5 separate regions of the Homo sapiens genome follow, and all the other regions are linked to region 1. The links are contacts of gene promoters, found by promoter capture Hi-C in blood cells and fetal thymus (Javierre and others, 2016). All regions are on one chromosome and are shown on one strand. Each heading gives the region's core, a stretch centred on a gene start or on the middle of the fragment in contact. The rest is flanking DNA. Distances are from core to core; before and after follow the strand shown. Region 1 holds the start of RPL41 (ribosomal protein L41). Region 2 overlaps RBMS2 (RNA binding motif single stranded interacting protein 2). Region 3 has its middle 2.3 kb from the start of RBMS2. Region 4 has its middle 3.1 kb from the start of GLS2. Region 5 overlaps GDF11 (growth differentiation factor 11).

Region 1 (2,686 bases), core at 109-2,608:
GGGAAAGGGTTCTTTTTCATCCCCCATTAACTCAAAAGTTTCCTGTAGCCAAATCTTAGGGGATCTGGTTGTTTTCCAGTGCTTCTCACCTGAGCATACAATCAAACTGGGAAGTTCTTTATCTTAACACCAAATGTCATACTTTCCCTAGATTTAGGTAATTTTCTCCCTATGTCCGTTGGTTCGCTCTTCACCCCTAGAGAATCACTGCATAGGTCACTGCAGCCTCGACTTCCTGGGCTCGAGATTCCCCCACCTCAGCCTCCCAAAGCGCTGGGATTACAGGCATGAGCCACCGTGCCCAGCCCGCTGACGTATTTTCTGAACAAATGATGCATTGTAGCCAGGAATCTCTAGTGATATTTTGCTTCGGGCATCGTGGGGGAAGACCATAATCAGCTATTTTATTCTTGAAATTTAGGAAAAATAATTGCTCTATCTTAAACAGTGAGAAAATATTTTTTGAAGTATGGCAGCTTTCCCGAATCCCCACTTTATATCTTCCTATGTTCTGAAATCTTAGGACCTTCGATGGTTCCGGAATCGAATCACCCTGCAGCAATTTATTTTAGAAAATAAGGCAAACCGGCTGGGCGCGGTGGTTCATGCTTGTAATCCCAGCACTTTGAGAGGCCGAGGCGGGCGGATCGCTTGAGCTCAGGAGTTCGAGACCAGCCTGGGCAACACAGCGAAACCTCGTCTCTACTAAAAATACAAAAATTAGCCAAGTGGCGCGCGCCTGTTGTCCCAGCTGCTCGGGAAGCTGAGGCGGGAGAATCGCTTGTATTCAGGAGGCGGAAATTGCGGTGAGCCGAGATCGCGTCACTGCACTCCAGCCTGGGTGACACAGTGAGATCCTGTCTCAAAAAAGAAAAAAAGAAAGAAAGAAAGAAAAGAAAGAAAGAAAGAAAGAAAGAAAGAAAGAAAGAAAGAAAGAAAGAAAGAAAGAAAGAAAAGAAGGCAAACCAGTAAAACAAGAATTTCTGTACAGTCCGCGCCTATCCATAGCAAAATGGAGGACTTCTCCAGGGAACTGCAACTCCCAAGAAGCAATGCGAGGGAAGGTGGCGGTCACTATTTTTTCCCCGTCTGCACCTCTAGGTCCAATATTGGAAATAGGTGCTGACGTTTAAATAACACAGCGTCCTCATACTAAATCTGGGGGGGAACTGGTAACTCGAAAACCAAATACTCGGTCTTCCGAAAGAACTAACTCAACCTACCCTTCTACAAGAGGGTCCGAAAACCACTGTTACGCCCATTGGGTAGCCCCGCCCTTGGGGGGGGCAAAGGGCGTGAAAGCGGAAGTGACGACACCCGGCGCTCCATTAAATAGCCGTAGACGGAACTTCGCCTTTCTCTCGGCCTTAGCGCCATTTTTTTGGGTGAGTGTTTTTTGGTTCCTGCGTTGGGATTCCGTGTACAATCCATAGACATCTGACCTCGGCACTTAGCATCATCACAGCAAACTAACTGTAGCCTTTCTCTCTTTCCCTGTAGAAACCTCTGCGCCATGAGAGCCAAGGTGAGCGGTTCCTGGTAGTAAGCTTGGGAGGTAGGAGTTGGCGAGTAGTAGCGAGGAGACGAAGGCAAGTCCGCCATACCTCCTGAACTACTGGGTTTCAAGGGTGCCCAAGAGCTGGTGGGAGAGAGAAGGTAGTTTGTGAGAGAGCTAGCGGTTAAGTGCTATGGGTAGAGAGGGTGGGCTTAGAAAAGGGTGGAATTCTGATCTTATGTTGGGAGGGTGTCCAAGTTACTGATGTAGTTGTTACGACCAATCTTTCATACTTCTTGGTTAAGAATCTGTCCGGTTCTAAAGAGTGCATTTCATATCCTTGCTAAGCCTACTAATAAGCTTCATCCCTTTTTTTTTTTTTTTTTTTTAATTATCTGCTGCTTGTGATCGGTTGCTAGTGGAGGAAGAAGCGAATGCGCAGGTACGTTGAGACTTTGCCAGCCCAGGAGGAGGGAAGTTCCTTGGACAAAACTTAGGAGAAACATTTGGTTTGGAAATCTTAAAAGATCTTTAGGAGAAAAACGTTTGAGTGTTTTCTCCCTGGAGCCAGGATTTAACAGAACAGAGAACGATAGAACCGTAGTGCTTGTTCATTTTACCACCTCATTCTTTATGTGGACGTTTGATTTAATGTGGGAGGGAAAGGCAACTCTGGTTTGAGGTGTATTCCATTCCTGTGTCTGCTTTTCAGGCTGAAGCGCAAAAGAAGAAAGATGAGGCAGAGGTCCAAGTAAACCGCTAGCTTGTTGCACCGTGGAGGCCACAGGAGCAGAAACATGGAATGCCAGACGCTGGGGATGCTGGTACAAGTTGTGGGACTGCATGCTACTGTCTAGAGCTTGTCTCAATGGATCTAGAACTTCATCGCCCTCTGATCGCCGATCACCTCTGAGACCCACCTTGCTCATAAACAAAATGCCCATGTTGGTCCTCTGCCCTGGACCTGTGACATTCTGGACTATTTCTGTGTTTATTTGTGGCCGAGTGTAACAACCATATAATAAATCACCTCTTCCGCTGTTTTAGCTGAAGAATTAAATCATCTTGTCTATTATGTTTTTTATGGTTCCATCGGGTGGGGGTTTTCTGTCATTAGAGTTTGCCCTGTCACTACCTGTGCTATGGAGGGTATCAAAGCTATAAAGGCAACAGCCCGGGTTACGTGGTGTG
Region 2 (2,686 bases), core at 103-2,602, 460 kb after region 1:
CCATTCTCCTGCCTCAGCCTCCCAAGTAGCTGGGACTACAGGCACCCGCCATCACCTCCAGCTAATTTTTTGTATTTTTAGTAGAGACAGGGTTTCACCGTGTTAGCCAGGATGGTCTCGATCTCCTGACGTTGTGATCCGCCCACCTCAGCCTTCCAAAGTGCTGGGATTACAGGCATGAGCCACCACGCCTGGCTGTCCCTTTGCCTTTCTGAAGCTGTTATGAGTATTATACATAGAGCTTGTGAGGCAGGCCTGCTAGACACCTTTTCTGTAATGGTTAAAGAAAAGGAAAACAAAAGGAAAAGGCAGAAGAGGATTAAGGTTGCTGGTGACCACTGTTTAGGGCAGAGTGACTGCTTAAATTCTTAAAAATACAACTATTGGATGATATTGCCATTTTGCACATTCTGTCCCCTGGAAGGGCTCTCCTACCTCTTCTTCCAGGAGTAAAACCCTCTGACAAAAGCTCAAAGGTTTAGGAGCCTTCAGGGTCCTAGGAGACTGTAGCTTTCAGGGCTCCGTGGTGACACAGTGAACTCTGCATCTGGCTCTCTCCCTGTTCCCTTCTCCCCTCCTCCTGCTCTTCCTCCATCAGGGAGTGAACAGGCATTCCTACTTAGAGGATTCTGCGTGGCTGGAAGAGAAGTGGGGAGGGGCTGCTCAAAACAAGCCAGCCAAGGAGCAAGGCAGTCTGAGGGAATCCAGCCTCTGGGACCGGCTGCTGGGGGAGAGCGGGAATGCTGCTCTGCCTGTTTCTAAAAGAGACAGCCAAACACCATTTATGACTTGTATGATGGGCTTGTATAGTACTAGAAATATTAAATCTGCACTTCTCCCTCCTGGAACTCAATATACAACCCGTGGTAGTGGGACTGGGTGTTAACAAATAGAATAATCTTTGTTTATGTGGGACCCTTCCTATAGTCTCTTTTCTGAAATGTCATTTGTGGGGAGGGCTGAGGGTGGGAGAGGGATAAGAGATGTGAGCCTCATTTTCTCACTGTTATTTCCACAGCAACAGGAACAGGACCCCACAAATTTATACATCTCAAACCTCCCACTGTCAATGGATGAGCAGGAACTGGAGGGGATGCTGAAGCCCTTTGGCCAGGTTATCTCCACCCGTATCCTTCGAGATACCAGTGGGACCAGCAGAGGTGTTGGCTTTGCAAGGTGAGGATGGCAGGAGTGGGGAAATGATGAGGTTAATAACAAATGTCACTTGGGGGTCACCAGAAAACAAAATCTATGCCTTTCCCACACAAGGTCAAAATACTTTACTATTATTCAAAAATACTTGATGGTAAGTCAAAAGTTCATTTTAGGCCAGGTGCGGTGGCTTACACCTGTAATCCCAGCACTTTAGGAGGCCAAGGCAGGCATATCACCTGAGGTCAGGAGTTTGAGACCAGCCTGGCAAACATGGTGAAACCCCGTCTCTACTAAAAATACAAAAATTAGCCAGACGTGGTGGCGCATGCCTGTAATCCCAGCTACTCAGGAGGCTGAGGCAGGAGAATTGCTTGAACCTGGGAGGCAGAGGTTGCAGTGAGCTGAGATCGCACCACTGCACTGCAGCCTGGGGAACAGAGTGAGACTCTGTCTCAAAAAAAAAAAAAAAAAAAAGGTTCATTTTATTATAGGTTACAATACTCAAAAACCCATTAGCCCCACCTAAATATTTTTTTTATAAAGATGGGGTCTTGCTGTGTTGCCCAGGCTGCTCTTGAACATCTGGGCTCAAGTGATCCTCCTGCCTCAGCCACCTAAGCAGTTGGGATTACAGGCATGAGCCACCACACTCGGCTAAGCTCCCTACTACTTCCTAGGGAAGTACTCTAGGCTTTGTTCCTTTAATCCAGACCCAACCAGAGTAAAAAATTCTGTATATTCTTATAGTTTACTGAGTATTTCTCATCTTGTCTCATTTAATCTTTACAACATCCCTGTGAGATAAATATTCTCTATCTTACAGATGAGGAAAGTGAACTCTTCAGTAGAAATGATTTGCCCAGGGTCTTACAGGAGTGGGTGTTAGAGCAGAGCCCTGATCCTTCTGGCTTTGAGAGCAGTAGGATGAGGTAGAAGTTTTGATCTTCCTTTTCAGATCTGTTGGGAGACCTGTATTCCAGAACAATTCTGCACCTGTGATATCAGAGCTTGTGAGCCTTGGTTCACTCTCTGAAGTGGAGATTGATTCAGATGAGTAATTTTCCCACAGTATTCCCTATACCTGCAGTTTTCCCAGGTGCCCTTCTTTGGGCTTTGGTATCTGCCCTCACTGTCGTAGGGTATCAGCCTCCCTTAGCCCACTTAAGAAATGGCTCTGCTTTTATTTATTTTAAGATTTTATTTGAAAGGAGATTCTTTTGACTTTTTTTTTTTTTTTTAGTTTCAAAATGACTGGACTAAGTGAGCCAAGCACCCCTTTTTGCTTTATATCTTGTCTGGTCCGTGAACACCCCCTTACTCTGAGTGTTTCAGACCTTGGGAACAAGAAATAGTTTCTCTTGGCTGGGCGTGGTGGCTCACGCCTGTAATCCCAGCACTTTGGGAGGCTGAGGCGGGTGGATCACCTGAGGTCAGGAGTTTGAGACCAGCCTGGCCAACCTGGTGAAACCCCGTCTCTACTAAAAATACAAAAATTAGCTGGGTATGGTGGCGGGCTCCTGTAGTCCCAGCT
Region 3 (2,686 bases), core at 67-2,566, 400 kb after region 1:
GCCAATAGAGGCATGCAAACATTTTTCTTTATTTTTCTTTTTCTTTTATTTTGAGACAGGATCTCACTTTGGTTGCCTGGGCTGGAGTACAGTGGCGCCATCTCAGCTCACTGCAGCCTCGACCTCCCAGGCTCAGATGGCTCTCCCAACTCAGCCTCCTGAGGAGTTGGGACTACAGATATGCACTACCATGCCTGGCTAGTTTTTTGTATTTTTAGCAGAAATGGGGTTTTGCCATGTTGCCCACATTGGTCTTGAACTCCTGGACTGAAGCAATCTGCCCACCTCAGCCTCCCAAAGTGCTGGGACATTTTTCAGCTACATTTTGGGGTTGACCTAGCCCCTACTCCTTCACCTTGGACACTTGTTTAAAAGAGTTGTTTTTCTGGAGAAATCACAAACAAGCCTATATTGAATCAGGTACAAATGTCTCTTCCCCAAAGAAGTTACAGATAACTCTCATTTTGCTTTTTTCCCTTCAAAACAATTCCTGAGTGCTGGGTTCATGAGAACCAAGAATTAGAGAGGCATTGACTAAATCTGGAAAAATGTGGGCAATGTAATGGGCAAAGCAGAAGGGCGTCAAAGTAAATACACTGGAGGAAGTAGGATTCTTCCTCCTCCCGTATACTTCCTGAATCTAACCACAGAACACCATTACCTTCCCCATCATTTCCACAGAATTCCATAACTCCTTTACAAATATACTCACCTGTAATGCCAGCAGTTTTGGAGACTGAGGTGGGCAAATTGCTTGAGCTGAGGAATTCAAGACCAGCCTGGGCAACATGATGAAACCCCGTCTCTACCAAAAAAAAAAAAATTACAAAAGTTAGCCAGGTGTGGTGGTGCATGCCTGTAGTCCCAGCTACAGGGTGGGGAGGGGTGGGATGGGTGTGAGGATCACCTGAACCTGGGGAAGTCAAAGCTGCCTGTTGTGAGCCGTGATTGTGCTACTGCACTCCAGCCTAGGTGACAGAGTGAGACCCTGTCATAAAAAAAAATATATGTTTATAATACATATACTCACCAGAATGAAGGATTTAGTTTCCAGTTTTGTTGGTGCTCTTTAACATAATACACCTTTGGCATCAGTTTGCATATCCGGGTCATTTTACTTCTGTGGTCCTAATTTACCAGATTATAAAAATTTAGATTTTTCGGTCGGGTGCCGTGGTTCACACCTGTAATCCCAGCACTTTGGGAGGCCAAGGCGGGTGGATTGCCTGAGGTCAGGAGTTCGAGACCAGACTGGCCAACATGGTGAAACCCCGTCTCCACTAAAAATACAAAAATTAGCTGGGCGTCGTGGCACATGCCTGTAGTACCAGCTACTCAGGAGGCTAAGGCGGGAGAATCGTTTGAACCCGGGAGGCAGAGGTTTCAGTGAGCCAAGATTGCACCACTGCACTCCAGCCTGGCGACAGAGTGAGACTCTGTCTCAGGGGGAAAAAAAAAAAGTAGAAAGAAAAATTAGACTTAAAAAAAAAGTTAAATTGGGTTGATTGCCTTTATGAATCAGGCCTTCAAGAGAAAGGTTTCTGTACCACATTGTTAGGGTAAAGGAGAAGATATCATCCAAGGGCCTAAACAGCAAGGATAAATTGGTTAATGAGAGTCTCTGAGAGCAGAAAAAGGACTTAAAAAAATATATATATATATATATATGGGCCGGGCGCGGTGGCTCACTCCTGTAATCCCAGCACTTTGGGAGGCCAAGGCGGGCAGATCACCTGAGGTCGGGAGTTTGAGACCAGTCTGGCCAACAAGACTACTAAAAATACAAAAAAATTAGCCGGGCATGGTGGCGCATGCCTATAGTCTCAGCTACTCGGGAGGCTGAGGCAGGAGAATCGCTTGAACCCGGGACGCAGAGGTTGCGGTGAGCCAAGATAGCACCACTGCACTCTAGCCTGGGCAACAGAGCAAGACTCTGTCTCAGAAAAAAAAAAAGATATCACTGAGTGATGCCTTCATTTATTTATTTACTGCATTTGGCTGCTGTGTTTCCAGTCTCAGTTGCAATTCCCACACTGAGGCTCTCCCACCCTTCCTGTGTCCCCTGAGCTGAGCAGGCACTTCCTGTCCTATTGGAAATGAAAGTTAGAGATTGGGGGTAGGGTATGTATATTTACTCTGCAGAATACTAATACTGTCTGTTCCATTATCATAGCAAAAAAGTGACACGGAAACTAGAATAGAGACCAGAACTTCATTTGAGGGAGGGTTTGGGCTTAATATTTGTTGTCACAAAACAGACAGGGTTAATTTATATCTCAAGAAACTACTTAGGATGGCAGCAAGGTGGCCTTATGAAGGGATTTGAAGGCTTTCATTTAACATCCCTATTGCACTTGGATTGGTAGGGGTTACTGGATATCATTCTTAAGTTTTTGGTTTCCTTTCTTGTTAAGGTTACGCCTACAAAGACATTCTTTGGAAACTAGTAGAGGTAAGTGTTGCAACTCTATTAGGTTCTTGACTCTGAAATTTGTATTCCTTCCTAAGAATTTTGTGTTTTTATTCTGTTGAAGCATATGCTTCTTAAGTATTTTTTTTTTTTAAACAGCTCAAAGACAACTCAAAGCAGACATCCCAACTGTAGACTTCAATTTAGACATAAACTCCAGGTTTGGTGAGTTACTGTAATTGTTTCAGTTTCATGGATCTTAAAGATGAGGAAATA
Region 4 (2,686 bases), core at 91-2,590, 370 kb after region 1:
CCATAGTTTTCATTTTTGGATTAAAATGAGTTTCAAGGGTACTCGTGGGAAAACAAGTACTGAAACCAGTCAGGTGTGTTCTGTGGAAAGGCAGTTCTCCTTTGCCTTGGTTAGGGTTGGAGGGCTTATTTGGCTTAAAACCAGATGGAGTGACATTTGTTTTTGCTTGTTTTCGCCTTCTGTAGTCATTCTGTGTCTGCTGTATCTGTTCTCCTGTCCGTGGAAAGCCGTCTAATTCTGGGAGGGCTTGCTGCTTTATGCTTGGCTTTGCCCAAGAGGCAGAGTTCTGGGTCTCAATACTTAACGTAAACTCAATCCTGCATTAGTTTTTTTCATACGTAACAGACGAATCTTATCCTTGTTTCATAGAAATATGATTTATCTGAAACGTTTTGATCTATTCAAGAGAAAAATACCATCTGTTAGGGAATTTCTAAACATTACCCAGAAGTAATTTGCTTCCTTTTTTTCCTATTTCTGCCTCTTTGAATTAGCTTTATACTCTAATGAGTTCCTTACTCTCTTTCTCCCAGCACTCTTCCACTAATAGGAACTGGTTGGGTAGTGAAGAAGATCTATGCATGGAAGCAGAGGTTCTTTGCTTAGAGAACTAGCTCCAGCTGCACTTGGACCTTTGGACTAACTGTCTCCAATACAATATTGCTGTCTTTGCATGAGGATGGAGCATGAACTGGTGACTTGGGAGGCCAATGGTACTGTGTAAAGTATAAGATGCTGGAGAAGAACAAGTTTGTTGTCCCAGGTGGTTAAAGCTTGGCAGGGTCAGGTCCTCTTTTTGTTTCTAATTTGAAAAATACTCATCATCTAGTTTAATTTGTGCAAAACTATTAGCCAACTATGACAAGGGCAGCTAGAAATGAAGATTTTCATAACTGAAAGAAAGTTCTTTGTGTCTCTAACAGTGGGCTTTTAGGTTAGTCCATGGCTGTGCCAGAGTTTTGTGGTATGTGAGAGAGGATTAGACTTAATGATTTTGAATCCTTAATAAAAGCTAAATCCGGGCCGGGCGCGGTGGCTCATGCCTGTAATCCCAGCTGCTCAGGAGGCTGAGGCAGGAGAATTGCTTGAATCTGGGAGGCGGAGGTTGCGGTGAGCTGAGATCACGCCATTGCACTCCAGCCCGGGCAACAAGAGCAAAACTCCGTCTCAAACAAAAAAAAAAAAAGAAAAGAAAGAAAGAAGGAAAAGCTAATCCTCTGTGATAGGAAATTGATGTTTGGAGTTTGTTTATTTCTTATGATTTAGAGACTCATTTGTTCTACTCTATTTTGTGTGTGTGTGTGTGTGTGTGTGTGTGTGTGTGTGTGATGGAGTCTCGCTCTGTCGTCCATGCTGGAGTGCAATGGTGTGATCTTGGCTCACTGCAACATCCGCCTCCCGGGTTCAAGCAATTCTCCTGCCTCAGCCTTCCGAATAGCTGGGATTACAGGCACCCGCCAATATGCTCGGCTAATTTTCGTATTTTTAGTAGTGACGGAGTTTCACTATGTTGGCCAGGCTGGTCTCGAACTCCTGACCCCTTGATTTGCCCGCCTCAGCCTCTCAAAGTGCTAGGATTGCAGGTGTGAGCCACCGCACCTGGCCTGTTCTACTCTTTAGACTGTAGCTAGGATGTTAATTGGTCCAAGTAAAAGATTAGTTCATTTTTTTATTAATCTTTGTTAATGATACTATTGTTACAAACTCCTTTCTGCCTTAGTTTCTCCATTTGTAAAAGATAAACTTGTATTTTACTGGGTAAAATGTAAGTACTTGGGGCTCTGACATAATGAGCTTCCATTCACTCAATTAATATTTATTTGTTGGCATTCAGTGTGCCAGGTCCAGTGCTGGAAAATCCAGAAATTTAAAAATTTAATAAACCAGTTTCTACTGGGAGAAATGAGAAAGCTTATGTTTAAAATTCCTAATGAAAAATGCTGTGATGTAGAGACATGCAGAAGAAAGTATAAAGGGGACATCTAACTAAGCTGGGGGTGAAGGGCCACTGGGATAGAAGAGGAATGGTGACTGACAGGAGCTGGTTTTTAAAGCACGAGAGGTGTTTCAGACAGAGGGCTCTACAAGAATAAACATAGCCTGAGAGGAACATTTGAGGGACTCTACCTCTAGTTTGGTTGGAATGAAACGTGGGTATAAGAATGTGGACCAGCCGGGCGTGGTGGCTTATGCCTGTAATCCCAGCACTTTGGGAGACTGAGGTGGGCAGATCACAAGGTCAGGAGTTCGAGACCAGCCTGACCAACACGGTGAAACCCCATCTCTACTGAAAATACAAAAATTAGCCAGGCGTGGTGGCATGCACCTGTAATCTCAGCTACTCAGGAGGCTGAGGCAGGAGAATCAGTTGAACCTGGGAGGCAGAGGTTGCAGTGAGCCAAGATCGCGCCACTGCACTCCAGCCTGGGTGACAGCGAGACTCCATCTCAAAAAAAAAAAAAAAAAAAAAAAAAAGAATGGGGACCAATGAAACTGAGGATGTAGGTATGGGATGCATGTTTTAACTTGATGCTAGACTTTCATGGAGTAAATGAAATTTAATAAAAGTTTAAGCGTGTCTGTGATCTACTCCAGTGTGCTTTCCTAATTCTTCTTTGGTTTAGCAATAACAAAATGAACATTTATAGGACTGAAAAAATATAAATATAAGCCTATTAAAAAACAT
Region 5 (2,686 bases), core at 128-2,627, 370 kb before region 1:
AGTATGCTATTTGGGATGTTGCTTGTCACTCCCCATCTCACTAGTAGCTTCCCTATCCCAGCTACTTCTGATCTCTGAATTCTCACCCCCCAAACCCTACTCCATTGCACCATCACTGAAGCTCCAGCCAGTAAAATAACTGGACTACCAGGGCCCTGGGACCTCAGAGAATAATCAAGAAAAAAAAAAGCTATAGAGACTTTGGGTATCATATCCTGAATATATGAAGTTCATTAAGCACTTTCTCCTCATCTCCCTTAGAAGGTCCTCTTTCTCCCAGGGTGGGGGTGGGGAAGAGCTGACAGGACACCCTAAGTCCATCCTGATTTTGCAGAACTCAAGACATGGGGAGGATACTTAAAGGCCTAGACTTCCTAACCCTGCTTATATGGCTCTGGAAGCTCATTCCTGATTCTTCCTATCTAGAGTCAGGATAGACATATTCTGTCCAATGGAGACATGTTGTAGGACACTCCCAACTGACTTAGGAAAGGCAGTGAAGAGGAGCTGGAATGGAGGCAGAGGCAGATATTTATTGAGAATCATCTATTAGACCCAAGAAGGATCAATTTAAGGTCCAGAGCAAGGGGAAATGGGTCAAAATGTAAAGTTGGGATGTTCAAACTTTGTAAAGACCTACTGGCACTAGACTGAGAAGTCAAAGGAAGCTCAGGGGAGAAAAAAGGCATTGTAGTTAATCTGGTGTATTTAATATTATTTCTGGTGCTTTAGGCAAATAGGAGGCAACACCATGGAGGTAATTATTCCTTTCCTCAAGAGCTGGGGGCAGTCATGGTGATGATGATGGAGCAGCAGCTGAAGAAACTTCTTAAGAGAGAATGGGGAGACAGATGTATAGGAAGTGCTTGGATAGTTCCATTTTGCTGGGTGTTATTCCTAATGGGAGTGAGGCAAGAAGCCTAGATCTGAATTCTGGTTTACATAATGGGATAAATTTAGCTCATGCTCCCTATCTGGACCCTGGGTTATCCCCTCTCTGAGGCCATCTGTGTTATTTTGTGGGGGAGGGATGTGCCAGGCTCTACCTGTCCAGCAGATAAATCAGAGCAGATAGGGGAAAGGTGATGGAAGGGCAGCAGGTGTGATAAGAGGTATGGCTTCTATAAAGAGCTTCAAAGATTCAGAAAATGTTGGAGCCTTATATGCTGGGAAAAGTTGGACAGTAAGGATGGTGGTGGATGAATAATTTTGCAGGTTATCTGGTAGACAGGAACCTATATATTAGGGCAAATGGATTAGGAAATGGACACAGATCAGTAAGGCCTTATAGGGCCATCATCCTAAAGAGGAAGTGCTGTTTTAGGTACCGGAGACATGGTATAAGATAGGCATGGGAGAAGGGTAAAGAAGAACTGGAAAATCAGGCTGAGAAGTCCAAAATTGCCAGTGCCACCCAGGACTACTGATCCCCTACACAAACACCCTTTGCTGATGCTGTGCCCTTCTCTCTTATCAGCGGACCCAGCAGTACAGACAGATGGCAGCCCTCTCTGCTGCCATTTTCACTTCAGCCCCAAGGTGATGTTCACAAAGGTACTGAAGGCCCAGCTGTGGGTGTACCTACGGCCTGTACCCCGCCCAGCCACAGTCTACCTGCAGATCTTGCGACTAAAACCCCTAACTGGGGAAGGGACCGCAGGGGGAGGGGGCGGAGGCCGGCGTCACATCCGTATCCGCTCACTGAAGATTGAGCTGCACTCACGCTCAGGCCATTGGCAGAGCATCGACTTCAAGCAAGTGCTACACAGCTGGTTCCGCCAGCCACAGAGCAACTGGGGCATCGAGATCAACGCCTTTGATCCCAGTGGCACAGACCTGGCTGTCACCTCCCTGGGGCCGGGAGCCGAGGGGCTGGTGAGCAGGGGGCCTGAGGTGGTGGATATGTGTAACCTGGCCCTGAGGAGATAGGGTTACATTGGAAAAGGTAGACAAGGAATGTGAAGGAGGTTGGGGACCAGCATTACTTCTCTGGGGTCAGCAGCTGATTCTAGAGGAGGAGGTGAGGAGTGGGGTGGCAACTATTACTTCTCAAGGATCCAAATCAGACAACAGCTGAAAACTGGATTTGAAGGTAAAGGTGTCAGTTAATGGAAGAGCTGTGAGAACAAAAAAACTGGCTGTTGAGGCGTTGGGCCAAGGGGCTGACAGGGATCAGGTTGCCAGAAGAGTAAGAATTAGAGATGGTGAGTTGAAGGAGAGCTAGCTAGCTGGCAAGAAAAGTGGGCAAAAGATAAATTCTGGGGGTGGGAGCAATGGAAAAGCTGAGAAGTCAGCAGTCTCTATTCTGATGCCCCTGGCAGGTGGGAAAGGAACAGGGAAGAGGAACTGTTCAGGACCATATCACATTTCTTTCCCCTCTCCCTGACCCTCAGCATCCATTCATGGAGCTTCGAGTCCTAGAGAACACAAAACGTTCCCGGCGGAACCTGGGTCTGGACTGCGACGAGCACTCAAGCGAGTCCCGCTGCTGCCGATATCCCCTCACAGTGGACTTTGAGGCTTTCGGCTGGGACTGGATCATCGCACCTAAGCGCTACAAGGCCAACTACTGCTCCGGCCAGTGCGAGTACATGTTCATGCAAAAATATCCGCATACCCATTTGGTGCAGCAGGCCAATCCAAGAGGCTCTGCTGGGCCCTGTTGTACCCCCACCAAGATGTCCCC

The links. The method cuts DNA at HindIII sites, captures the fragments that hold promoters and counts their contacts. A CHiCAGO score of 5 or more calls a contact.
Region 2: a fragment that was not itself captured here is called in contact with the fragment with the promoter of RPL41 in region 1 in 1 of 17 cell types (fetal thymus); the score reaches 5.7 in fetal thymus.
Region 3: a contact is called between a fragment that was not itself captured here and the fragment with the promoter of RPL41 in region 1, in 1 of 17 cell types (naive CD4 T cells). The highest score is 5.4, in naive CD4 T cells.
Region 4: a fragment that was not itself captured here is called in contact with the fragment with the promoter of RPL41 in region 1 in 5 of 17 cell types (naive CD4 T cells, total CD4 T cells, naive B cells and 2 more); the score reaches 9.0 in naive CD4 T cells.
Region 5: a fragment that was not itself captured here is called in contact with the fragment with the promoter of RPL41 in region 1 in 4 of 17 cell types (fetal thymus, naive CD8 T cells, naive CD4 T cells and 1 more); the score reaches 7.4 in fetal thymus.

The regions. Positions count from the first base shown.
Region 1 is chr12:56,115,275-56,117,960 of GRCh38, forward strand. RPL41 (ribosomal protein L41) reads left to right here and starts at 1,359. Exons shown (of 3, transcript NM_001035267.2): 1 at 1,359-1,525; 2 at 1,915-1,937; 3 at 2,208-2,686. The coding sequence starts at 1,514. The coding sequence ends at 2,250. RefSeq lists an enhancer at 951-1,000 and a silencer at 2,667-2,686. The HindIII fragment of the contact is 11,197 bases long and covers 1-1,545 here.
Region 2 is chr12:56,570,680-56,573,365 of GRCh38, forward strand. RBMS2 (RNA binding motif single stranded interacting protein 2) reads left to right here. Exons shown (of 14, transcript NM_002898.4): 5 at 1,019-1,176. Among named protein-coding and RNA genes, the nearest start is that of RBMS2, 50 kb to the left of the region's middle. The HindIII fragment of the contact is 3,027 bases long and covers 1-2,686 here.
Region 3 is chr12:56,518,183-56,520,868 of GRCh38, forward strand. It overlaps a transcript of RBMS2 not described here. Among named protein-coding and RNA genes, the nearest start is that of RBMS2, 2.3 kb to the right of the region's middle. The HindIII fragment of the contact is 4,136 bases long and covers 1-2,686 here.
Region 4 is chr12:56,489,903-56,492,588 of GRCh38, forward strand. No RefSeq gene overlaps it. Among named protein-coding and RNA genes, the nearest start is that of GLS2, 3.1 kb to the left of the region's middle. The HindIII fragment of the contact is 1,138 bases long and covers 772-1,909 here.
Region 5 is chr12:55,747,109-55,749,794 of GRCh38, forward strand. GDF11 (growth differentiation factor 11) reads left to right here. Exons shown (of 3, transcript NM_005811.5): 2 at 1,478-1,875; 3 at 2,394-2,686. Among named protein-coding and RNA genes, the nearest start is that of GDF11, 5.3 kb to the left of the region's middle. RefSeq lists an enhancer at 1-414. The HindIII fragment of the contact is 9,248 bases long and covers 1-2,686 here.